3 separate regions of the Homo sapiens genome follow, and all the other regions are linked to region 1. The links are contacts of gene promoters, found by promoter capture Hi-C in blood cells and fetal thymus (Javierre and others, 2016). All regions are on one chromosome and are shown on one strand. The core of a region is centred on a gene start or on the middle of the fragment in contact, and the rest is flanking DNA. Distances in the headings are between cores, read along the strand shown. Region 1 holds the start of LRMDA (leucine rich melanocyte differentiation associated). Region 2 holds the start of LOC124902462 (a long non-coding RNA gene). Region 3 overlaps LRMDA (leucine rich melanocyte differentiation associated).

Region 1 (3,660 bases), core at 409-2,908:
AGCACAGGAAAGTGCTCAGCCCCATGAACTTGTAGCAAGGTACACCGGGAGAACACCAAATCTGAAACGCAGAGAGACCTAGGGTCTGGGGGGCAGGGAACCCTCCTTCTTAGGTAGATACTCCAAGAGAAGGAAAAGACCCTCTTGTCCAGCCCCTCCCTCCAGGCAGTAAATTAACTCCCAGAAAAAAAAAGCCCCTTTCCCCGATGGCTGAACAAGACCCGTCATTTTTAGCCTCTCCGCAGGCTGTTAACTCACTTCTGAACTCTGGTCTTTCTCCAGCTCTCTCCTCCCAGGCTGTGGGTCAAGGGACAGAGCCAGCATTCCTGAGCAACAAAACTGTTAAATGGGGGGTGCACAGAGACAAAGGAAAGGCTAATTTCCAACAACACCTGGCATGGTGCCTGGCATACAGTAGGCACTCAATAAACATGTGTACCTGATGAAACGACAGGACTCTGGAAAAAAAGAAAACAGGCAGCGGCTAGTTTAATGGGCTGCACAGTTGGCCCTCACTGCATCTGTAGGAGCTGTAAAAACCCCTAGAATCTCCTCTAAGGAGGAATCATTCCCTTCAGCCCAAAGTAATCTCAAAATCCAATTGTGCCTGACACTACCTGCCTTAGGCAATCCAAGAGGAGAGCTTCAAAAACTCAGAACTATTTCTCCAGGGTGTGCAGGGAAAGGTGGGAAGTAAGAGGGCTCTGGCTTCATCAGAGCAGAGAAGAGGTTAAAGACAGAGAACTGGCTTTTCCAGCAGGTAAGAAAGACACCTGGTCCCAGAGTGGCTGGGTTCATCCCTCCAACAATGAACACCTGAGGCTTCACTACAGAGCTCAAAGCATGTGAGACTGGGTGTCTGGCACCCAGGATTGAAACTGGCGTGTTGCCATTCATCACAGACTCCTGTTCAAGAAATCGAGTGTGGAAAGAGAACTGGAGGTCGGTGGCCTTCCATCAGCCTTTGGCTATGGCGTAGCCCATTCAGCGCAGGGCCCACCAGCACCCTCATCTCCAGGGATGTGCTGGGACTTTGGGTACCCTAGACACTTTTGCCTTCATAAACCCCTTCCTCCATTTACAAATAAGTAAATTTGTATATTACAACTGCATTGGTATAAAGATGACTATATCAATGTGATTTATCAAAATGGATTCTTTGACCAAAAGTTTTTAAAATTCAGATTATGAAATTGGAACATTTTCTGTGGGCCCCCAAAAGCAGCGGGGGCCGTCAGCACTGTGTCCGCTGGGCCTGCTCAGTGAGGCGCTAAGGGCAGAAGGAAGTGGGGAGAACGGGAGACCTTGCGGGTGTTCTTCCCGCACATCAAGGGGGTGTGCCAGGCCCGAAACGAGGTCTGTCCTAGCCCCACTAGGGCGAGCCTGAGCACCTGAAGCTCACCCCCTGCAGACGCAGCCCCCTGAGGCGGGGACAGGGGTGTCTAGGCCCTGGGGAGCCTCTGTGCCCCGCTGTCCCTCCCCACGCGGACTGCGCCCCGGGCGGAGGCGGGGCTGGCCGGGACTTACTTGAGTTCCACGCACCACGAGCCCGGCCATGGCGGCCAGGACGCTGCGGGCGCGCGGGACGGAGCGCGGGGGCGCGGCGGCAGCAGCGGGGAGCGCGGCAGGGGAGCGCGGCGGGCGCACAGTTCCGCACTGGGCAGTCAGCTGACCCGGCGGAAGCCGGAGGCGCGGGCTAGCCTCGGGGACCTCAGCTCCGCCGCTCGCCGCCGCCGCCCCTCGGCCCGGTCTCCGCGCAGGTGAGCCCTGGCCGCCCGCTGCAACAGGTGGCCCGCAGCGCCCCGCGCCCCGACGGCGGCCTGACCCCGACTGCCCGCGCCCCTCCCTCCCCCGGATGTCCCAATGCCCAAAACTCCATGCCCACAGCTTTATCGCGTTTGTCTGGGCCACGCCTGAGGTGGGGGTATTCCTATCAGGGGCGCCCTTTCTGAGCCGTTAGCCGGGCTGTAGCCAGCCGGGCCTTTCCTGCATTTCGCAAGCTGGGTTACATAATGGACCTCAACTGCAGCGAGGAGGGGCCTCTTGGCTGAACGCCCCTCCTCATCAAAGCTGGGGAGAGGGAAAGTTAGAAGGTTGAAGGACTCCTGGTGCGGCCCAGTTTCCATTTGTAGGAGGGGAGGGGGATTGGGGGGGTTGAATTTCCCTATAAATAAAACGCTGGCTTGGTGAAGACCACCCCACCCTTTCCCTGTGGCCTCTAAGAGTTGACAATAATAAACCCTGGGGAAGGATAATTGGCTGGTGACCCCAAATTTCAGGCTTCTCTTCTCCTGCTCCTCAGAGGGCAAGAGATTTGTGAGGCTTGAAGTTATCAGTGGGGTTATTCGCTGTTCCCCACCCACCCCATCCCCACCTGGAAGAGCTGGCCACGGGCCTCCTGTCTGGATGAAAGTAGGCCCAGTGGGCAGGTAACTCCCTAAACCCATGCCTGTTTTTCTCTGAAATTCTCTGGAAGGATCCAGATTTTCTCCTTGCCTATTCTTGCCTCCAAGTCCAGGATGCACAGAGCTACCAGATATCAACTGGTTGTCATCTTCCACTCTTGCTGCAGCTAAGAGCCAGCCCAGCCTTAACTGGCATCGTCTCTCAGACAGCCCCGGTCCTAACACATTGTTAGGTGGGCCCTTGTCAGCATTTTGATGAGCAGTGTTGATCTCGGAGGGTTGACCTTCCTGCCCCTCTCTCAGCTGGGAGGAGCAGGCTCAGAAGAGTAGAGCAGTAAGAATGCAGTCTTGACTGTGTTTACTTTGGGGGATTCCAGGAAATGCTGCAACAAAAGGTCCTGCAGGCCAAAAAAGAAAGCTTACCCTCCAGAGATAAGGGGATCAAAGGGAACCTTCCCAGGCCTGTTGCCCCAAGGACCAGCTCCCCCGCCTTCTCCCTCCTTCTCTGCTGGACGCGCCCTCTCTGGTCCATTGTGCACTTTTGTCTGCTTTTCCTGCCTGAAAAGGAGGAAGTGAGCCCGGACCCAGCCAGCACTCTGCCCTCCGCAGCTGCCTTTCAGCTCAGCTTTCCTAGAAGGGCTTTGACAGATGGAAGAGGACTTGTGGAAACAGGCCCAAGCTGACTCAAAGATGAGATTGGAGAACGGCTCTCCCTTCCCCCACCAGAAGGGGGTTACTGAAGGTCATCTCATCCATCCCCCTGCCTCCATACACAGCTGGGTCATCTGAGCATAGGCTGTTCTGCAGACACTACCAATGTCACCAAAGTGGGCTGGCATCTTTCCCCCTTTCCACACCCTCTCACTACTGTTGCCTCCTCCACATAGCCCCAGGGCAACCATTTTAAAAGCCCAATTAGATCCTACCTAAAATCTTTCAATGGCTCCTAATCAAGTAATAATTAATACAGTCCAGAATCTTTAGTATGTCCCTGAAGATCTCTTATAATCCCATCAATTCTTACCTCTTCAGCCACCTGTCCCAGCTCTCCCGTCCTCTGGCTTCACAGAAGCTGTTAGTTTCAGCTGGAAATGCTTCCCCACCTACTGCTGTCTCTGCTTGGTGAACACATCAAGAAGGCCAGTTGATGGTGTGGGGAAGGATCATGTGCAGAAATCACAAAAATTAAGATCAGGATAGCTCTGTTGGAGGGGGGCTTTAGTGTTGGAACTGTAAACTGATAACAATAGGGAGC
Region 2 (3,660 bases), core at 666-3,165, 870 kb before region 1:
GTCATGTGTGACTTAGGATGTGGAACTGAAGACCTACAGACTTAGGACTAGCTGCTACACTTGAGTTTCATTTCCCCCAAGAGACCCAAAGAAAGTAGGCAGGATTCTCTGCTTAGCAATTCAACAGCACCCACTATAGCAACCAAAGGGGGATATGTACAAATGCTCTGCTAGGCTGCTAAAACTCTTCTGGGCTAGAGCCCACATGCTCTCAGTGTCTATATCAGGATAGCTAAAATCTGAAGAAGAACCATGAAGCTTGGATGCTAACATTTGGAATTCCAAAAGGGCTGCAGTATGCAAAAGTATGTGTGTATGTGTTGATTGCAGAGGAGAGGATAAGGATATAAAAAAACTCTGAGTTCCAAACCCAATCTTTCTTTGTAAAGTTAATACTAATCCTCAGCCTGTGTACCTTTCTAGATAAGAACTTAACTTTTCTAGATAAGGACTCTACATTATTAAATATTAATTTTCACAATACTAATGTGTTTATTATAAAATATAGTTAATATAGTAGATTGGAGCCAAGGGAAATGGTGGAAAATAGTTTAATAGATGGAAAGTCATTTGAGAAATAACCCCCAAAAATCTTTTCTCCTTTATTTTCTTTTTTCAAAATTTTCTGTAAATTATTCACAGAGCCGTTCTTGAAAGAGGCCTTTTTTATTTGCTTTATACTATCAATAACTGTTAACATCAAAAGTTTCATTCATCTAAACGTATACATATGTGTGAAGCTATTTCCTTGAGAGATTCCAGACCCAAATATATGATTACTACAAGAAAAATGACTAATCAAGTATCATAATCAGTAAGTCTGATGTCCTGTGCAATATTTCTAACCATTCTAGCAGCCTTATTCTCCCTGAAGCCAAAGGAAATGCAAAATTTAAGTTTATTTTCTAAAGAAACACTACCCTGTGCCCATCTTAGTCTTCAACTCTCAAACACATTGTGGTCTAGAGGGACTCAGTCACTGACAAAGTATGCATGAACCTACCCTGGGTGGGAGATCCCATTCTAGGTATATGTTTTGCTCAGGACAGTCCAATGTCCTGACCATGAAAGAAAGAAAGAGGAAGGGAGGGAGAAAAGAAAAAGAAAAAAGATGTTTTGAGGTTACTTTCCAAATGAGTTTTCATCCATTAAAACATTTTCCAACATTTTTCCTGACTCCGTTCTACCATCTACTGTCTTTTGTACCAATTATAAGATAGAAAGGGCCCAAGAAAGGGCCCACACATGCTACAAGCCCTCTTTTCTCTTATTCCATATCCAGGATTCCTAGGTTTTGAAAGGTAAACACGGCCACAGAAACTCCTCTGCTTTCTCCAGCTCCTGGGTTTATCCTGCAAGTGCACTTGCACAGACAGATTACAGAAGGGTAAGGCATGGTAGTGAGACACACAAAGAAGACCTGTAACCCAGATGGTTACAGAGCTCAAAGGACTCCACGAAGATTCACAAGGAAACTGGGGCCTCTCTGCTTAAAAACGTAGTGATTCACCTTGCTCTTGGGGTAAGCAAAGAGCACCATCCATTTCCTAGAAGGCCCTCTGCCCCAGCCCCTGCCTTCTCAGCCTCTCTTTTGCCTTCACTCCTCACCCTGAGAGTCATCACGTGGTGTTCTCCTGCTCCCGCAGGGCACTGTGCCCCATCCTGCTGGAGATCTTTGCAAAGCCTAGTCTTCCTTCCTAACTCCCTCCCAACATGCTTTGCCTGAGTTGTCCCCCTACTAGACACTTTGCTCCTTGAGGGCAGCGCCCTACTCCACCTGGGTGGCCCATAGTATCTTCTCGATAAATACTAAATGGTAAATTAAATGAACTTAAAATATTGAACAAATAGCATTCCCTGGCCTCCAAGGGTGGAGGATAACAATAAGTCCACATCTTCCCAGGCTAAGTCAGCCTCTGCACTGTCCTCTGATGGGAGCTCTCTACCCCATACCCCAACCCCTGCAAACAGGGCTTCTCAGTGTTGGACAGGTGGCATGCATAGTTCCTCCCTCCAAAATTCCCCATGTGGACACCCCTTTCTAGCAGAGCCCAGTTGATTTCTCGTATGTGAAAGGACTACAAGTTTAAGGTGCGCTTCTGCCAAATGGAGTCATCCAAAAGGTGTTTAGAACAAACAAAGGAAAACCTCCTTCCTGTACTTCAGACTGGGCTACAAATGGGAAACACAAAACCAAGCCTGTAGTTTCTAAGATGCATTCAGTGGCGTCTGTCTGGGATTTGGGATCTGGCAGGAGGGACCCCAGCCAGGAGTGATCTAAGGTAGCACCTGCTTGGCTCAGCTTTCTTTTTGTTATACCCATCTTTCTGTCTCCTTCAATGGATGGTTTTTGTTCCTTTCCTCTGATGAATGAGTAATTAAAAGTATAATCCAAATGAAGCCCCCAGGAGTGCAGGTACGCACACCATTAGTCACTGTTGTGCTCCTCCAGGGACCAAAGGGGAAGGCTAGAAAGGTTAGAGAAAGCCGTGAAAGGGCCTTCAGGGCTGTCATCAGGGGAGAAAACTGAGTTGTAGTGAGGCCTTCTTGTCACACAGCTCAGTCGGCAGAAGGGGGTGCTGTAGTGTAACCTATTTAGGATGCAAATAGAGTGTCTCCCGAGCTGCAGATGAAAGCGAGCGTGTTAGCCGCTGCCTGGCAGGTCCTCAGCAGTACTGAATGTCATATTCCTGCTTGTCACTGCTCACTGCAGGTCATTAATAGAACTCAGAATGGTGTTACTAAATGTGCACATTAAAAAACTGATCACCAAAAAAAAAAAAAAAGAGTGGCAATCCCATTCCCAGGGAATTCAACTCATCCAGCTCGGTGAAGATTTGTTTATTCAAGATCACTGGAGTTCAACAATTTTATTAGCTTAGATTGACAACTATCTATCACAGATGTACTACCCACTAAATGATAGTGGAAGAAGGGAGTTAAGGCCTCATGTGCGCGCCTGTGTGCAGTAAGAAAGAAGAGATCACTGAGAGCTAGAGGTTTCACAGATAGTGCCCAGCAAGTGAGCGCTGGACGGGCACCTCTCCCTTCTTCTTGGTTGGACTTCCACAGAAGTGGAACAAAAGACTCAGAACAAAACCTCCAGCTTCACAGAACCACGCCAGCTGGTACTTATGCTTTATTTTTTGACGCAGTCAGGTGTTCATTCTGCCAAGCAAGTTTTCATTCTTCCCTTTACTCCAGCCAATTCCTGTTTTCTTCAACTGGAGCTCCCCAAGACTCATCAAAAACACGATTTAATTACATCTCCAAAAAAAAAAAAAAAAAAGGGAGGAGTGTAAACATGACTCCTTTTTATCTCCTGATACATCTGGACAAGTAGACAATGTGCTAAAACAAAATAAATCTGCCCTGACAGTCACATCAAAGAGTTCAGCAAGGGGCTTGCAGCTACTTAAAGCACAGGAATGCTGTTGCTAAGCATCGGCCTACAACTTATCAGTCCCTGGAAGAAATGCTTTTTTCTTTCTTTCAGGGGGAGATGAGGAAAGTTAGAGTGGGAACCAGACTGCAAAAGGAGATTGGGGATTTTCAGGGATTTTGAAGCTTAAAATGAATTGTGTGAAGAAAAGGGGTTTTGTTGCGTTGTGTTTTCCTTTTAACAAACTGTCTATATTTTTATAAAGGTATTACATGGAA
Region 3 (3,660 bases), core at 350-2,849, 620 kb before region 1:
ATAAATGAACAAGTGCATGAATGTGTGTGTACACATACATATACATATAGACACAGACATATATGTATATATGCATATATACATATACAAAATTTATTAAGTTATTTTTAAGAGTGATTCAGGTGGGGTGTTTAATGAGAGCTTATGTCATAATGGAGAGAGAGGTCCATGAAAAGGTCATTAAAGCATTTACAAAACAACAATCAACAATGAGAACACAGACAATTTTAAATGAAGAAGGAAAATTAGGTGACTTTGGTAAAATGGGTAAGACCAAAAAGACTCTCTAAATGACTTTGGATCAGGGCTTTTAAAGCACATGGTTGAGAAGTAGAGAGAAGAACGAAAAGCATTTCTACTTGGAGCCCATCAAAGCGCATGGCTGGTGGGCGCCACGGCATAGCTCTATGGTGGAGAGGTATGGGCCTGTGGGACTTCCTCTTGAGATTGTCTATGAGCTCCCTAAATTTTGGTGGGAAGTCATCTCTCTCTTCAAGATGACTCTGAGACAGACCACAGAAAGATCTTACAACACAGAGCAGGGGTCAGCAAGTTACAGCCCATGGGTGAAATCTGGCCTGCCATCTGTTTTGTAAATAAAGCTTTACTGGAACAAAGCCATGCCCATTTGTTCACAAATTATGTATGACTACTTCTGCATTATGAAAGCAGGGCTGAGTAGTTGTGACAAGTCCATGTAACTTGGAAAACCTAAAATACTTAATATCTGGCACTTCACAAAAAAAGTAGAAAAGGCAATAACTTTTCATCTTTCTTAGCTTTTGTGACCTCAACCAAGAGAGACAATGGCTATAGGTTACCAAAAGGTAAAAGTTTAACATTGTCATGGGAAACCCACTGATATGTACCAAACATCTACTATGCACCCCAGAGTATAATATCATCCCCTAAAGTTTCTCTTTTTCCCTTTTCCCACCATGGTCCAACCCCTGGACACTCACCTGTATCTCTTGTAGTCTTCCTCATCCTTTTCCAAGCTGACCAGCTCGTTGGGACAGGCCACGTTGCCCAGCAGACTGAGGTACTCCAGAGCTGGTGTCACTTCTGCCAAGTGATCCAGCAGGTTCTCCAAATCAGTGATGTGACAAAGGTTAAGAATCTTGGTCCAGTAAGACAAAAGGCTTAGCAATGAGCATAGGCCATGACTGACAGGCGCTGATGAGTCCAGTCTGCTCCTGTGAGACCTCAGGGTGGGGGCTGAAATCAATTCAGCTGTGGGTATACGGTATTGCTACTTTTTCACTCCCACTGTTGGGAACACAGCCCAACTTTCGCTAGGCAGGTAAGACTAAGTCCAGATCATCTGAGGAAGAATGAATAAACTTGATTGTCCCATCATATTTTTCTTTCCTCTATAGTTCTGTTTCTAAAACACACCAAAAGGGAAGATTCCATAGAGTAAAATATTTTTACAATATGCAAAACCATAAAACTTAATTCGTTTCTAGTAATGAAAACAAGGGCTGGGCATGGTGGCCCACACCTGTAATTCCAGTACGTTGGGAGGCCCTGGTAGGCAGATCATTTGAGGTCAGGAGTTTGAGACCAGCCTGGCCAACATGGTGAAACCCGTCTCTACTAAAAATACAAAAATTAGCTGGGCATGATGGCAGGAGCCTGTAATCCCAGCTACTTGGGAAGCTGAGGCAGGAGAATCGCTTGAACCTGGGAGGTGGAGGTTGCAGTGAGTAGAGATCATGCCCCCAGGTGACAGAGCGAGACTCTGTCTCAAAAGAAAAAAACAAAACAAAAAAACCAGAAAAAGAAAACCAGAAATTATTTCAGAAGGCCTCATTAAAATATATTCTTTCTCTGTTAGTGAGGGAATTAGAGAATGAAAGAGAAAAGTCAGAGGGGGGCATGATGGGGGAGATTATTCCAGGAGCCATCTTCCAGTGGGACCCACTGTCCAATCATGGCCAAACCAAATAAAGCAAGAGCCATAGATTCACAGAATCACAGGTACTGGAAAGGGTTTAATGACAACTTAGTCCCCATACTAACTCCTGGCTTAAGCCACATACAGACAAGCTGAGCCTAGGTAAGGTGATGGTTAGATAGGCATGCCTGGTTAGGCCGTGACTTCGAGAGACATATGAGAGAGGGTTAACCAAGTTGGCAGATAAAAGGGGGTCCCAGCCAGGGAATGGCAGCAGAGCTACAGGAACAAAACATACAAGGGTAGAAGAAATGCCATATGCAAGCGTGAAAGACTCAGATTACAGTTCCCAGAAGTGGGGTCCACTTGAACCTAGGAGAAGGTAAAATCAAAGAAAAGGGATGTTCTTGCTCTGTGAGGATGTTATCTAACCTTGGGCTGTTACACAGATTTCCTCATACTTCATTTCAACTTGTCACAAAAGAATGAATTCAAAATCCAACCAATGTCGGAATTGGGTCCCTAAAATATTTGCCAAGCAATCACCACGACATAGCACATTCCATTTCTGACAACCATAACAGTTTTCCTTTCCCCTGGAATTGAATCTTTCTCTAACCTCTACTCAGTGACCCAATTTAACTGCTTGGGGTCACAAAGAATAAGGCTTCTTCTCTTCCACATGATGAAGCTTCAGATATTTGAAGCTCACATGTCTTCCTTAAATCTTTTATTCTCCAAACTAAGTTCCTTCAAGCATTCTTTGTACACATGCTCTGCCACCATCATATGCAAGGCCAAATGCTATACCCTAGGTGAGAGCAGCCAGAGACAATGAGAAGCAGAGTACAAGCAGAAGAGGTGAAACTAGCAAGAGAGGGAAACTAGCAAAAGAGGGGGAAACTAGCAAGAGGAGGAAACTAACCAGAGGGGGAAACTACCAAGAGAGGGGAAACTAACAAGAGAGGGGGAAACTAGCAAGAGAAGGAAACTAACCAGAGGGAGAAACTAGCAAGAGGAGGAAACTAACAAGAGGGGGAAACTAGCAAGAGAGGGGGAAACTGGCAAGAGAGGGAAACTAACCAGAGAGGGGGAAACTAGCAAGAGAGGGAAACTAACCAGAGGGGGAAACTAGCAAGAGAGGGAAACTAACCAGAGGGCGAAACTAGCAAGAGAGGGAAACTAACCAGAGGGCGAAACTAGCAAGACAGGGTAAAGTAGCAAGAGAGGGGGAAACTAGCAAGGGAGGGGAAAAACTAGCAAGAATAGGTAAACTAGCAAGAGAGGGGGAAACTAACAAAGGAGGGGAAAAACTAGCAAGAGAAGGTAAACTAGCAAGAGAGGGGGAAACTAGCAAGAGAGGGGAAAAACTAGCAAGGGAGGGGAAAGTAGCAAGAGAAGGGGAAACAAGCAAGAGGGGGAAACTAACAAGAGAGGGGAAACTAGCAAGAGAGGGAAACTAGCAAGAGGGGAAACTAGCAAAAGAAAGTTGTGAGCACACTCATTTGCTGTTGGCTTCAATTCACCAACATCCTCCCTGCTTCCCAAACAAAGACAGAGAAATAGACATGGAAGTTTGTTTTCAATCTCTCAAATCTTTCACAAATAACATCCAGAGATGGCCATACAGGAACACTAGAATGAGGAGGTGAGAATGGGAGTTCATATAGAGACTGGAGAGAAGGTCCCACACCAGGGGGATGAGGTTGGGAGTACAGAGGGGTGGGTGGCCAGGAATCAAAATCCCTGGAGACAAAATA

Evidence for each region. Contacts are between HindIII fragments. The CHiCAGO score rates a contact against its expected background, and 5 or more counts as called.
Region 2: a contact is called between a fragment that was not itself captured here and the fragment with the promoter of LRMDA in region 1, in 1 of 17 cell types (M0 macrophages). The highest score is 5.6, in M0 macrophages.
Region 3: a fragment that was not itself captured here is called in contact with the fragment with the promoter of LRMDA in region 1 in 1 of 17 cell types (erythroblasts); the score reaches 5.5 in erythroblasts.

The regions. Positions count from the first base shown.
Region 1 is chr10:75,429,622-75,433,281 of GRCh38, reverse strand. It overlaps LRMDA (leucine rich melanocyte differentiation associated), which reads right to left and starts at 1,658. Exons shown (of 7, transcript NM_001305581.2): 1 at 1,528-1,658. The coding sequence starts at 1,557. It overlaps LOC107984293 (a long non-coding RNA gene), which reads left to right and starts at 1,672. Exons shown (of 2, transcript XR_001747703.2): 1 at 1,672-1,760; 2 at 2,972-3,660. RefSeq lists enhancers at 849-1,349, 1,350-1,850 and a silencer at 1,609-1,708. The HindIII fragment of the contact is 4,872 bases long and covers 1-2,825 here.
Region 2 is chr10:76,302,841-76,306,500 of GRCh38, reverse strand. All of the region lies in intron 5 of LRMDA (leucine rich melanocyte differentiation associated), which reads right to left. It overlaps LOC124902462 (a long non-coding RNA gene), which reads left to right and starts at 1,485. Exons shown (of 3, transcript XR_007062203.1): 1 at 1,485-1,522. RefSeq lists a silencer at 2,476-2,770. The HindIII fragment of the contact is 3,309 bases long and covers 261-3,569 here.
Region 3 is chr10:76,044,606-76,048,265 of GRCh38, reverse strand. It overlaps LRMDA (leucine rich melanocyte differentiation associated), which reads right to left. Exons shown (of 7, transcript NM_001305581.2): 4 at 963-1,102. Among named protein-coding and RNA genes, the nearest start is that of MIR606, 490 kb to the right of the region's middle. The HindIII fragment of the contact is 1,989 bases long and covers 605-2,593 here.